Regions from separate parts of the Homo sapiens genome. Here region 1 is linked to region 2. The links are contacts of gene promoters, found by promoter capture Hi-C in human tissues and cell types (Jung and others, 2019). All regions are on one chromosome and are shown on one strand. The core of a region is centred on a gene start or on the middle of the fragment in contact, and the rest is flanking DNA. Distances in the headings are between cores, read along the strand shown. Region 1 overlaps CADPS2 (calcium dependent secretion activator 2). Region 2 holds the start of CADPS2 (calcium dependent secretion activator 2).

The links. Contacts are between HindIII fragments. The study calls those that stand out against the background at their distance.
Region 1: a fragment that was not itself captured here is called in contact with the fragment with the promoter of CADPS2 in region 2 in 2 of the 25 tissues and cell types used here (H1 embryonic stem cells and stomach).

The regions. Positions count from the first base shown.
Region 1 is chr7:122,359,335-122,365,902 of GRCh38, reverse strand. It overlaps CADPS2 (calcium dependent secretion activator 2), which reads left to right. Exons shown (of 30, transcript NM_017954.11): 26 at 4,890-4,973; 27 at 5,083-5,115. Among named protein-coding and RNA genes, the nearest start is that of FEZF1, 58 kb to the right of the region's middle. The HindIII fragment of the contact is 5,436 bases long and covers 1,373-6,568 here.
Region 2 is chr7:122,884,182-122,890,363 of GRCh38, reverse strand. CADPS2 (calcium dependent secretion activator 2) reads left to right here and starts at 3,904. Exons shown (of 30, transcript NM_017954.11): 1 at 3,904-4,365. The coding sequence starts at 4,027. RefSeq lists silencers at 3,497-3,656, 3,667-3,826, 3,897-3,976, 3,987-4,036, 4,077-4,206 and an enhancer at 4,567-4,616. The HindIII fragment of the contact is 17,974 bases long and covers 1-6,182 here.

The DNA.
Region 1 (6,568 bases), core at 2,841-5,340, 520 kb after region 2:
TCACTTAGAGTTTATGGTTCTACCTTCCATATGAATCTTATATGCTGTCAAAATCAACAAGAAATGTAAATGCACATGCCTTGAAGCACTCTTCATGTTTCCTTCTACCAGTCACTTCCAAGAGTTTCATGAGACAAAGTCAGTAATTACCCAGGCAGACTTTAGGTGTTAAATATTTTTCAAACAAGCCCAGTTAATGGCATCAGTAATAAAGAGCAGGGCAACAAAGAGATTACAGTGTTTCATTCCAACCCGACACCCTCAGGAGAACAGACAGCACAAAGGCAAACCCATAAGTGTTTATATACTCCCTGAGCTGTACAGAGAAAGTTCACAGGAAGCAGTTAAAGATGCAGCAACTAAACCCAACATTTAACTGGGTTTCTTTGGAATCTTGCTGTTTTATGCAATTAAAAGCCAGGTGGAAGGTATATCGTTACTAGTCAATCTTGATGTTTATAATAGAGTTTGATTTTTAAGGTAGCTCTTCTACTAGGTGTGCCTCAACAAAAATCTTACAAAGAAAACTTTCCTGTAGGAACTGTACACCTCAGCTGGTTAATCCCACAGGTGCTGTCGCTGCTCACTGCCATGTAAGCACTTAGATTCCCAGCTGTATTGAGCCTCCCCAGGGACCTTTAGGGATAGGGAGGAAGCTGAGGAAAGACTCTCCACTACTTTTGAAATGGAGACAAAGAATGCTGAGACATGAATGCAGCAGACCACAGGTTCACACCTAGGACTAACTTGTATATAAGCCAATGCTGCTTCGTGCTCTGAAGAAGATGAGCCAAACAGGCTGCCAGATGCCACATGGAGAAAATTCTGCCCTAAATGCATTTGCCAGCAACCTTCCCAGAGAGTCATTTTAGCCACTCTATCTCTGCTATCCTTTGGCTCAGCTCCTGTGCCAACTCATAAGTGAAGCTGACCCCATATCCTGTAGTCAAAGACATTATTTCCTTCTTCTGGTTTCAGCTATACTGCTTACTGTCTACACTGCCCATAACACTTCTGCCTTGTGTCATGTGCAGTTATGTTCATGTCTATCTCTCCCACTAGTTTGTATTTCCCAAAGGGAAAGATCTAAGACTGTTGTGTTTTTGTATGTCTTATCCTAGGTACTCATTAATAATTAAAACAAAATGACACTTATTGGGCTCTTTTTTTTTTTTTGAGATGGAGTCTCACTCTGTTGCCCAGGCTGGAGTGCAGTGGCGCAATCTCGGCTCACTGCAAGCTCCGCCTCCTGGGTTCACACCATTCTCCTGCCTCAGTCTCCTGAGTAGCTGAGACTATAGGCACCTGCCACCACACCCAGCTAACTTTTTTGTATTTTTAGTAGAGATGAGGTTTCACTGTGTTAGCCAGGATGGTCTCGATCTCCTGACCTCATGTTCCACCCACCTCAGCCTCCCAAAGTGCTGGGATTTCAGCCGTGAGCCACGGCACCTGGCCAAGTTCTTTTTTTTTTTTTTTTTTTTTTTTTAACTTGAGACAGGGTCTTCCTTTGTCATCCAGGATGGAGTGCAGTGGCACAATCATTGTTCAGTTTAGCCTTGAACTCCTGGGCACAAGCAATCCTCCCACCTCAGCTTCCTGAGAAGCTACAGGCACACGCCACCATGCCCAGCCAATTTTTTTAATTTTTTTTTGTAGAGACAGGATCTTGCTATGTTGTCCAGGCTGGTCTTGAACTCCTAGACTCAAGCAATACTCCTGCCTTGGCTTCCCAAAGTGCTGGGATTACAAGTGTGAGCCACCACACCTGAACCCTTGAGTATTTATATGCTGGGCACATTGCATATGGCGTATCACTTAATTCTTACAGTTCTGTAGCATGATGGGTAAAGAGCATGGGCTTTGGATCAAGACCACCTGTGTTTAAAGCCTTCCTCCTTCTGCCGTCTGCCAAATAACCTTGAAACAGGCGGAATCCCAGTGGTTTTCTGACTTAAAGCCTCAGCTCTATTCTACCTCCATAGAAGCCCCATAGATTTAATTGAATTAGACCCATTAGCTTAAGGACCAAACTCATTCCTCTTTGTCACTAAGTAATTCTAAGGCAGCCCCCATTAACTTGTGACTTAATGTATTCAGGTTTTTAGACACAGATAGTGATTTTGCTAATCATATGGATAATATTAATTCTTTACATTTCTTTAGTGTTTGGCCATTTTCACAGTTCTTTCACATAAATTACCTCCACTGATCTTCAGACCATTCTTGTAAGGTGGGCGGGATAGCTGTCCTTTTCCCCACTTTACTGAGAAGTACAATGAAGAGAGAGAAGCAAAATGACTTGACATTTATCTCGTAGCCAGACAGCGGCAGAGCTGCAACTTGAGCCAAGAAGTAAATTCATCAACAGGCTCCCTGCCTCTATCTTGCTTTGTCCCTCAGCAAATTCATCAACAGGCTTCCTGCCTCTATCTTGCTTTGTCCCTCAGCAAATTCATCAACAGGCTTCCTGCCTCTATCTTGCTTTGTCCCTCAGCAACACACATGTGTGTATGCACAGACTCACTAGCAAGCACCAAGAATCAGGTGCTGGGCTACAGCCTCCATGGTTCAAGCTGTCTAGTAACCATAGCAATTGCCGCTGTCCTCGTGGCAAATGAGATCACCCAGTACACACTTGCTCCAAGATTTGAGTTACAAGAGATGAGGCATTTTCCACAGAGGGCCATTAAGTTTGGAATTCCCTTTCCCTGGTCTGACATAACCCTAGAGTATTCATCTTCTGGGTCCTTGCAAACTACATCAAGTTGAGTTAGCCAGTCATGATTGGTAAGAAATCCTAACAGGCAGGAAGAAAGTGCTAAATTAACTTCTACATGTGAGCAATTCGCAATTTTGTGGGTGGATTTTTTTTCCCTAGGCATCCTTTAGGATAGCTACCCAAGCATACGTTATTCTCATTCTTTAAAAATGCACTTATAGTTCACAGTCAGTCTGCATGGTTTTGTTTCTGTGTTCTTACATCATGTCGCAAATGATGTGATGGAGAAACCTATAGGGAAGTTTTTGTTTCTTTTGCATAAACTATTTTGTAGTAATTGATCAGCCATAAAGAAAAGATTATCTCCTATGCACTCACAGCGAGTTCTCTGGTCACCAGAGACCAATAAGCTGTGTCCCTAGAACTATTATCACTTTGTTGAAGAAGCTGCTATGTGAACAAAAACCAGTCTTCGTTAATTTCCCTTTTCCTATTGAAAAAACCTTGTCAGCATTTTCCCTTTGGGAATCTATAATGTGTCAATAGTTCATATTATTTTAGTTCTAAGGAGGAGAGATGTAGGGCAGTATGTCATTCTTAAGATCTCTTATTCATCGATTTTCATGCTAAATAAAGTAAAATGCTTCACATTTTTACTGTATTATAGTGTATGTGTTTTTTTATTTCATAGAAATATAAAGTTTTAGAAATGTAAACCACTTTTGAGACTAATTTGAATTCCACATCCTACCCCCCTCACCCTAGTCCATTTAACTGATGGAGGAAGCCTGAGAAGTAAGGTGGTCAAACTGAGCTTGCATTCTACTGAGTGATGGAATTGGGATATACATTCTGAGTCCAGTGCTCTTTTCCATTGTACTCTGCAGTGTGTATCTGTTTTCTCTCCATAACTGCTACGTAAGCTTTGGGAAGCAGGGATGATCCTTATATGTGCCAATTAGAACTGCCTGGTAAATGCTTGTTAACTAATGTCAGCCATTGTGTCATAGTTACAAGAGCTCATATGTTACACCACCTCCCTTTCATTATCTGTTCATTTTTTTTGTTTGTTTGTTTTTTGGTTTTTTGTTTTTGTTTTTGTTTTTCTTTTTTAAGGCAGAGTTTTGCTCTTGTCACCCAGGCTGGAGAGCAATGGCATGATCTCAGCTCACCACAACCTCTGCCTCCCAGGCAATTCTCCTGCCTCAGCCTCCCGAGTAGCTAAGATTACAGATATGAGCCACCATGCCCTGCTGATTTTGTACTTTTAGTAGAGACGGGGTTTCTCCATGTTGGTTAGGCTGGTCTCGAACTCCTGACCTCAGGCGATCCGCCCACCTTGGCCTCCCAAGGTGCTGGAATTACAGGCATGAGCCACCCTGCCTGGCCCATTATCTGTTCTTTTATATTCAACCTCCTGTGTAGATGTAGAAAAAGTTGAAGGATGGCAAGTAATATAAAATAGAAAGGAATCTGATTAAGCTTGCCTGCCATTGTTTCTTAACATCCACATTGAAGTTGAAAAATGTTTTAAGGAAAAATCTCATGGACCTAAGATTGTTTATGAATGGCTTCAGTGGTCTCATATGTATAGTGACTAGATTCCTATGACACATTATCTTTTATTTTTTTAAAAATTGTGTATTATTGGCCAGACACGGTGGCTCACACCTGTAATCCCAGTACTTTGGGAGGCCAAGGCGGGTGGATCACAAGGTCAGGAGTTTGAGACCAGCCTGGCCAATATGGTAAAACCCCGTCTCTACTAAAAATACAAAAATTAGCCAGGTGTGGTGGCGGACGCCTGTAGTTCCAGCTACTCGGGAGGCTGAGGCAGGAGAATAGTTTGAACTCGGGAGGTGGAGGTTGCAGTGAGCCAAGATCACGCCACTGCACTCCAGCCTGGGTGACAGAGCAAGCCTCCATCTCATTTTAAAAAAAAAAAAAAAAAAAAAAGTGTATTATTTCCAGCCATGGGAAAGAAAAGGACAGTAGAGTTCATGTTCAGAATGAAAGAGTAAACATCACAAGTTAGTCTGACCTCAGCTGTCAGTTCATTCATTGTGAATTTTTGTGCGATGGAAGAAATTGATTCAGGAATTGTTTGTCCTGCTATTAGTTTGTATGCATAGTAACATTCTAAATACTCACTATAACTGTATTATAGTTTGTTTCAGTGTTGGAAGGCGTGTTGTCTAAGCTGTCAAGGTATGATGAAGGCACTTTCTTTTCATCCATTCTGTCATTCACTGTAAGTATTTGAATGAGTTCTCTTCTGTGGTCTTTTAACTGTTGTCATAGTACTTATATGGCAGTTAAAAAAATAATTCTCATGATTATCTCTTTCTTTCACACTTAAGGTGAAAGCAGCTGCAAAATATGTTGATGTTCCAGTAAGTATTTTTTATCTGCTTTTTAAAACTGTATGGAATTCTTTAAAAAAAAATTGCAGTTCATCATGGGTTTATTTCAAATCTTTAAACCAGTGCCATTCCCTTAGGGAGTAGTTTATTTTCCTTAAGCAAGCACTAACCTTCATAACAAGACATAGCAAGGTTATTTCGTTGACTTTTTCTGTTGTAACTCAGAAACTCTTAAGGAGATCAGTTCATCATAAGAACATATCACCTGAGTTGCAGAGGGAAGTTATAGCACTCTAGGATGGGGTAGAAAAATGCCTCACACTATTTATAGAAAAACTGCTCGCTTTTCCTCCCCTTTCTATGAAAGCTGTAATGGGTTTCTTATAGAAGGTAGAATAATGATAAAGATGAACCAGTTAAAGAATTAGTTTTCTAAATACACAAGTGTTATATAAATCAGTAGTTACTTATTTTAACATTTGTTGTTTCATAGAATTCTTGGGAAATAACTCATAAATTTGTTCCAAAATTTAGATTCCATGAGCAGAAATCATGAAACTGACTTAGCTACAATGAGAACGTTCACATGGTAAACATAACCAACAAGTTGTGCAGCATTTTTAAGCTAATCATCATACCAAATTAGTTTTTGATTTAAATTCTATTATCACCTATATGATCAAGGCCTAAGGTGTTCTGTTTAATCATTTATTTTGGCATATATGTCAATTTTCAAAGAATTAGAATTAGAGCACAATGAAAAATAAATTAAGATTTAAGACTAGATGGAATATAAATTCTCTCTTTGTATTTGAAGAACATTATATCTCTACATTGCCATTAGAAATGGTAGCAGTTTTGAGTGCTGGCAAGCTTTATGTATCAGTTGTAGATAGCTCTTATTTTTAGGATGCACCACCACATTTTGTCTCTGGCTTTATTGCTGCTGTAGTTATAAATGAGTATTTTAAATGAGAAGGCCCTGGACTTTTCTACCTTTGCATGGGGTTTCTTTGGAACTGGACTTTTTATTTTACAAATGTTTCCCAAAGAAGTCTTCATACCCTCCTCGTCCTGTACCTAGAATCAAGGAATCAGTGCTGGACCATAAGTAGAAAAAAATCACATATGTAGAGCCCCACAAAGCAGCAGCATGAAAGGGAGAATTAAGGGGAGATTTTATGTTTGATATCTTAAAAAGGAAGGCACAAATAATCTTGTATATATCACATTGGACTTTGTAACACACATAGTTTTTGTTTGATTTTGAATTACAAATGGACTGTGACACCAAAATTATTCATGTTCTTAGAGATTTTGAGGTTTTTAATTGGCCCTATACTAGTTTATTCTCTCCATAGAATTTCAGAGTTGAAGGAGACAGAAAATGGTTCATTTACTTCCCTTCTCAGTGCAAGTAACCCCTCTCTAACATCCCTTACAAAGATTCACTTGGGTGCTGTTTAATTATTTCAGTGGTTAC
Region 2 (6,182 bases), core at 2,655-5,154:
TCCTTAAATATTATTGCCAAAACCACATTTTATATTCCATTTTATTACTGTGCATCCATCTTTCCTTAGCATAAGAGATGTTCCATTAAAAAGCAGTATAAATTCAATTTGTTTTTATGCTCACCTTGAAAAAAGTAAAAACGAATCATTGAATAAGTTTAAGTGTATTGTGTGCATTTATGCTGTGTGCCCAATATAGCCTTATGTTGGGCCTCATTTAATCAATGATTCCAGAGCATCAACCAACGTTATAATTACTTGAAAAGTTAATATGTAAGGTAGAAACTTGGCAAAACATTAGCGCAAGCACAAAATTAAAAACTTTAAAATTATTTGGGTACAATTAACTAATGATCAGATCTTCTTTTCAGGTTCCTTTTCTTCAAACCATCCCTTAATTAGAGGAGAGGCAAGGAAGTTTCATTGGCCCTCTTCTCACTCTGAACACATAATTTCTAGACCTTATCATCCATATGTGTACTTTAAGCTCCTCAAAGACCTGATGTTTCTCCAAACCTACCTGTCTTCTAGAAGATCATATTATATCTATTATTAATCAAGTTACACTATTCTGACAAGCATCTTCTATGCTTGACCCTCTTTGTCAGCACCTCATACATATTCTATTAATTCCTTTGTCCATCTCATCAGCTTTCCTCCTCCTCTTGTCCTCTCTCTTAAGTTCAAGGCCCATTGTTTCTCTCTCAGACGTCCCTAGTAATCTCCTCTTTATAGCTTGTCTCTGGTTTCATTGCCCTTATATTGCTCCAGATGGACTCTTAAGAGTTATGGATCACAGTATGTCTTACCTTACTTAAAACCCTTCTGTATTTCCCCATTTTCTTCAGGATATGTTTAAATTCCAAAGCATGGCACACAGACCCAATCCTGAATTTGCCTCTGCTTATTCTCTAGTCTCATTTTCCACATCTTCATATTACATACATTCTTCACTTCAGGCATGCCACTTTACTTGTAATTCTCCAAAGTGGCAAACAATTTCACATCTTTGCATTACTTCCTATCTACAGTGTCCTCATCTTGACAGCTCTAAATTATTCTTCAAGATATATGTCAAGCATCCTGGAAGACTTCTCTTACTGTATTAGTCTGTTTCCACACTGCTATTAAAGACAGTACCTAAGACAGGGTAATTTATAAACAACAGAGGTTTACTTGACTCAGAGTTCCGCATGGCTGGGGAGGCCTCAGGAAACTTACAGTCATGGCAGAAAGCAAAGGAGAACCAGACACCTTCTTCAGAAGGCAGCAAGAGAGAGAGAGAGAGAGAGATGGGGAAACTGCCACTTTTAAACCATAAACGTCTCGTGAGAATGCCCTCACTATCATAGAACAGCAGGGGGGAACTGCCCCCCATGATTTAATCACCTCCCACCAAGTCCCTCCCTCCACATGTGGGGATTACAATTAGAGATGAGATTTGGGTGGGGATATAGAGTCAAACCATATCACTTACTATCTTCTGAATGAAGTGTTTCTTCTCTGTATTGCCATTATCTTCCAGGTTATTGGAACACTCATCAGATTGCAATCCAAATATTGATTATTTTAAATAAATGTTTTTTTCATTTGTCATTCCTTAACTGATAAACTTCTTACGGCCTATATCTTGTTTTCCTAAATATATCCAGTATAGCTTTAGCATATGTTAGTTTCTTAATCAATGTATGTTTAATGATGCTTAAACATTCTCTTTGTTGTCTTTTAGATATTTCTTTAATTTATGCCTCTTAAGTCATCTTCATCTTCATGGAGAAAACACTGTATATTCTGCTCTAAAAATTATTAGATGTTTTCCTGTGGGATCCTCAAGGCTTGGAGATCTTTGACTTAATAACCACCTTTAATGGGAAAAGAATAAGTGATCACATCAAGTAATATTGATTAATAAAAGGAACTGAAAAATATACCTATTGTTGGCAAGAAAAGGGCAGTAAAGTTGCTATATTTAAATCATACATTTATGTCCCTAGAAATTTTTATTAGTTTAGTAAACCTCATACATTTATTATACTGTCTTATTATCAAGGCAAATTGCAGTAGAAAATGACACTATTTGGAACTAGAAAACTGTTTTGAGTCCTTATTCCATTAGGTGCTAGTTCTGTACCCTAAGGAAAGGATTCTTCAACTCTCAGGTTCCTTATTTGAACAATGGAACCTAAAATAAATGAGATAATGTATGTAAAGAGCTTAGTGCAGTATCTGGTTCAAAGGGCAATCAATAATAATACTACCTGCCTCAGAAAGCTATTACTTTGATGAGGGTATTAAACAATTTCACAGATCTTTGCAAAGTGCTAGATAAGCATCAGCTATTATGACAAGATTGCTATTTGTTTGCCTTGCCAAAAATAAAACATTGCCTTTAAATACATAGGTGTTTGAGATTTTCTATTTCTTGGCAGTTTGTGATCATCCCACAGCCATGCTCTTACTGAAGACCTTTTATTACTAGGGGGCCTGTTATGGATTAGGCAGAAAAATAGGTAAGACTCCTCAGGAGTAAATGCCTCCTTGTCTTTTACCCATCTAGAGAGAATGTCAGTAAGTGCAGAAGTCTCTCTTGTGTACCTAACTATATGAAAGTGGCCTGAAAAAGCTAAAACTGCTGTTTGACCATGGTGGTAGAGGAGCTCAGAGCTGGTAGTTAATTTGCCCTGTGTTATTTCCACTGAACTTCATCACCTCCCTGCCCACCTGGTCGCTGCACACTCCACCTGGTGTTGAATGCATTGTTTTGCCTATTTCCCCCTCTGTCAGGACTTAGGACATAAGATACAGAATTACTATAAGAAACTCCTAGGTGGTTCCAGCACTAGGACTGAGAAATCTGCGCAGATAAGGCAGGCTTCAGCGCAGCTACAAGACGCCGACTTGAGGCCAGAACCACCAGCGACTGAGTGTCATGTGCCTTAGTCACCGCGGGCTCCGCAAAAGGCTAACAGTGCTGGACACCGGGAGGGCGCTCAAATCTTTGTTGAATAAATGTCCACACTACACAACCTGTTTTGAGTCAACTGCATCCCAACCCAGAAAATAATCGAGATATGTTTGAGCTGAATCAGTATCATTTTGCACATATAAAATCTCTCTTGCCTTGAGTCTGCAGGACTAGAACAGTTTAAAAAGTAAGCCTCGTTGGTTTTCTTTTTTTTTTCATTACTCCGACTTTTATAATTTGGGCTTCAGCATGAGTATCAAAACGGCAGCAGAGCAGAGTGAGACTTTTCAAAGTCTTGTCGCAAAGATACTTCGTGGTGAAGGGCTCCAGTCCCGCTTTTCCGCGCTGGGGTTCAATCCTAGGCAGCCGATTCGGGTTGGGGAGATGTCTCGGCCGCTCCCCCTAACCTCTTGCTAGGGAACAGTCCCTCCCCGCTCCCCATTCCACCTCCACCTGCTGGAGAAAAGATCACAGGTGGTAGGGTGAGGGTAGTCGGAGCAGCCCCGGTGGACGCTTACACGGGCCATCGCGCTCGGCCGCTCCCCGCCTTTGCAAACTGTGTGCTAGGGCTCCAGGCGGGCCCGGGCAGCAGCGGCGGCGCGCGCACGCGCACTCCGCGGCCCCGCGCGGCTCTTCAACATTCAATTCCACGTGTTGCTTGTTGTAGGCGCCACAGGTTCCCCACCTGCGTCCGGGCGCTCGGGCGGCTCCGCCTCTGCCGGCGGGCTCTGGGGAACCGCTGGGTCGGCGCGCCCGGGGCTGGCGGAGCAATTCCTGAGGCGCCCAAGCTCACCCCCAACGCTAACTCCGCCTATTCAGTCCCGGCGGCTCCCCCTCTCCCCCCTCCCAATCCTCCTCCCGGCTCCTGCCCGCCCCTTTCGCCCTGGTGGTAGGAAACACTCCTGAATCTAACTCGACGTGTCCGGAAAGCCCTGGCCAGTTTTCCTTTCGTTCTGCGGCCGCTGCAGCCAGCCCCGCGGCTCCCTCAGACCCGCGGGCGCAGCCGCCGGGGGTGAGGCGCTTGGGGACCGCGGGCCGAGCGGCGGGGATCCCCGAGCACCATGCTGGACCCGTCTTCCAGCGAAGAGGAGTCGGACGAGGGGCTGGAAGAGGAAAGCCGCGATGTGCTGGTGGCAGCCGGCAGCTCGCAGCGAGCTCCTCCAGCCCCGACTCGGGAAGGGCGGCGGGACGCGCCGGGGCGCGCGGGCGGCGGCGGCGCGGCCAGATCTGTGAGCCCGAGCCCCTCTGTGCTCAGCGAGGGGCGAGACGAGCCCCAGCGGCAGCTGGACGATGAGCAGGAGCGGAGGATCCGCCTGCAGCTCTACGTCTTCGTCGTGAGGTGCATCGCGTACCCCTTCAACGCCAAGCAGCCCACCGACATGGCCCGGAGGCAGCAGAAGGTGAGTTGCGGGACCGGGCGCCTCCTACCACCACTTCTCCCTGGGTTTTTCTCCCGGGAGAGCTCTGGGACGCCTCCCGTCCTTCTGCGAAACGCAGGACACCGTATTTTTGTTAGTCTCTGAGGGCAGAGGAATCTTTGGGGACAAGACGGTGCTTTCACCCGCCGGGTATGCGGCTGCAGCGGACACCTCTTCTCCTCCTCCCCGCCTGGGCTGGCAGGAGCTGTCAGCTCACCATCCGTGAGACAGAGACCGACAGCGCCGGCCGCGCCGCGGTTGCACCCGGCAGGCGCAGCTCTGGCCGGATTAGAATGCAACTCCCATCAACTTTAATTTCCAACAGCACTGGTGCATTCCTGTCCACCTAGCCTGGCGTGATATTGCTAGAGCTGGGTTTGCCGAGGGTCTGAATGAGTGTTGTAGCTAGGCGAAACAGGTGGAGCCCGAGTACTTCTCTTAGCTAGAGTGAAGTCTTCACTTAAGAGGGGTAGAAATTTTCCTCAGTGAATAAAAAAGTTAAATTAATACGTTTCCTATATTGTCATACAACCAGGACATCAAATCCAAACACCGAGAAGGCATGCAGCTTTGTAAAGTGTTTGTGGGTAAGTAATTTCTGGTCTGGGCAGGCCTGATTAATGAAATATACTATTACTGATGAAAGATAAAGGATTGGTGCATGATCACTTCATAACAAATGCTTTCCAAATGCTTTTTTGGGGAACAAAATGCTTATTCTCCCCCAAAAGGTAAGAAGTTTGTTTCAGGTGAAAGGCTGGCCAACTTGAGTTTCAAAACAAGACCCCAGGGGCCTGATGTTCTGTACCAGACACGAGTAATGACTCAAATTGTCCTAAGTGGTTAAATGTTTACAATACAAACTCTAGGAAATCTTTTTAATAGAATGCTGAACCTGGAAGGTTCTGTAGAAATCGGTAACAGTTCCCTCAGTTTGTGACAAGACCTAGAGATCCAGAGAGATTGTAGTCTGCTCAAGGCATACCTACATGCACAGACATTTATTAGTTTTCTGAAATATTAACTTCAGTGTGTGAGGCATTTTTAGAAATTTGGAGAGGTTTTGAGTTGACTTCAACTATAACTGTAGTTCAGAGTAAATTCAGTCTCCCTACATTCTCCTACCCCCATTTAGATAACCTTTATTTTTTGAGGTATAATTGACATGTAAAAAGCTGTGCATACCACTCCACCCTAACTATTGGTGGTTTCATAGGTGTATAAGTATCATGGGGATAAGTACACACCTATAGTTAACACTATTGTATGCTTAAGATCTATCCTCTTAGAAAAAAATTTTAAGTGGTCTTACCCAACTTTTTAAAACACACACAAACTGAGCAACTATTTTGGAATCATTTATTCTCTGGGAATCCTTATGGAATATTTCCTTACAGCTGGAGATTAATAACAGATCCTTCAGGTAACCTAACCCTAGGTATTCAGTCACAGAATGGTAGGGAGACTCCTCATGTTGGAGAAGAGAAATAGGTCATAATAGCATTTCCCAATCCCAAACAAATTGGCACAGTTAAAACCACCATTACTCAGGTAAGTTTTGAATGCCCCGCGGTGTTTTTATGAGCCTGCTGCTCCACTCCTGTATGAATCCCATACTTCCTAATCAGCTGCTCTAATTGAGTCTGTTCTGAGGCAGTCACCCGTGGCCTCTTCTCAATTCTAGTCAAGCGACTGTCAGCTTCAATAGTCATTGTTAAAACTATTTTTTGTATATGTTGTGGTATGAGTTCATATCATCCAGTCTCTAGTTTTACCATTCATATTGCATTTAAGCCTAT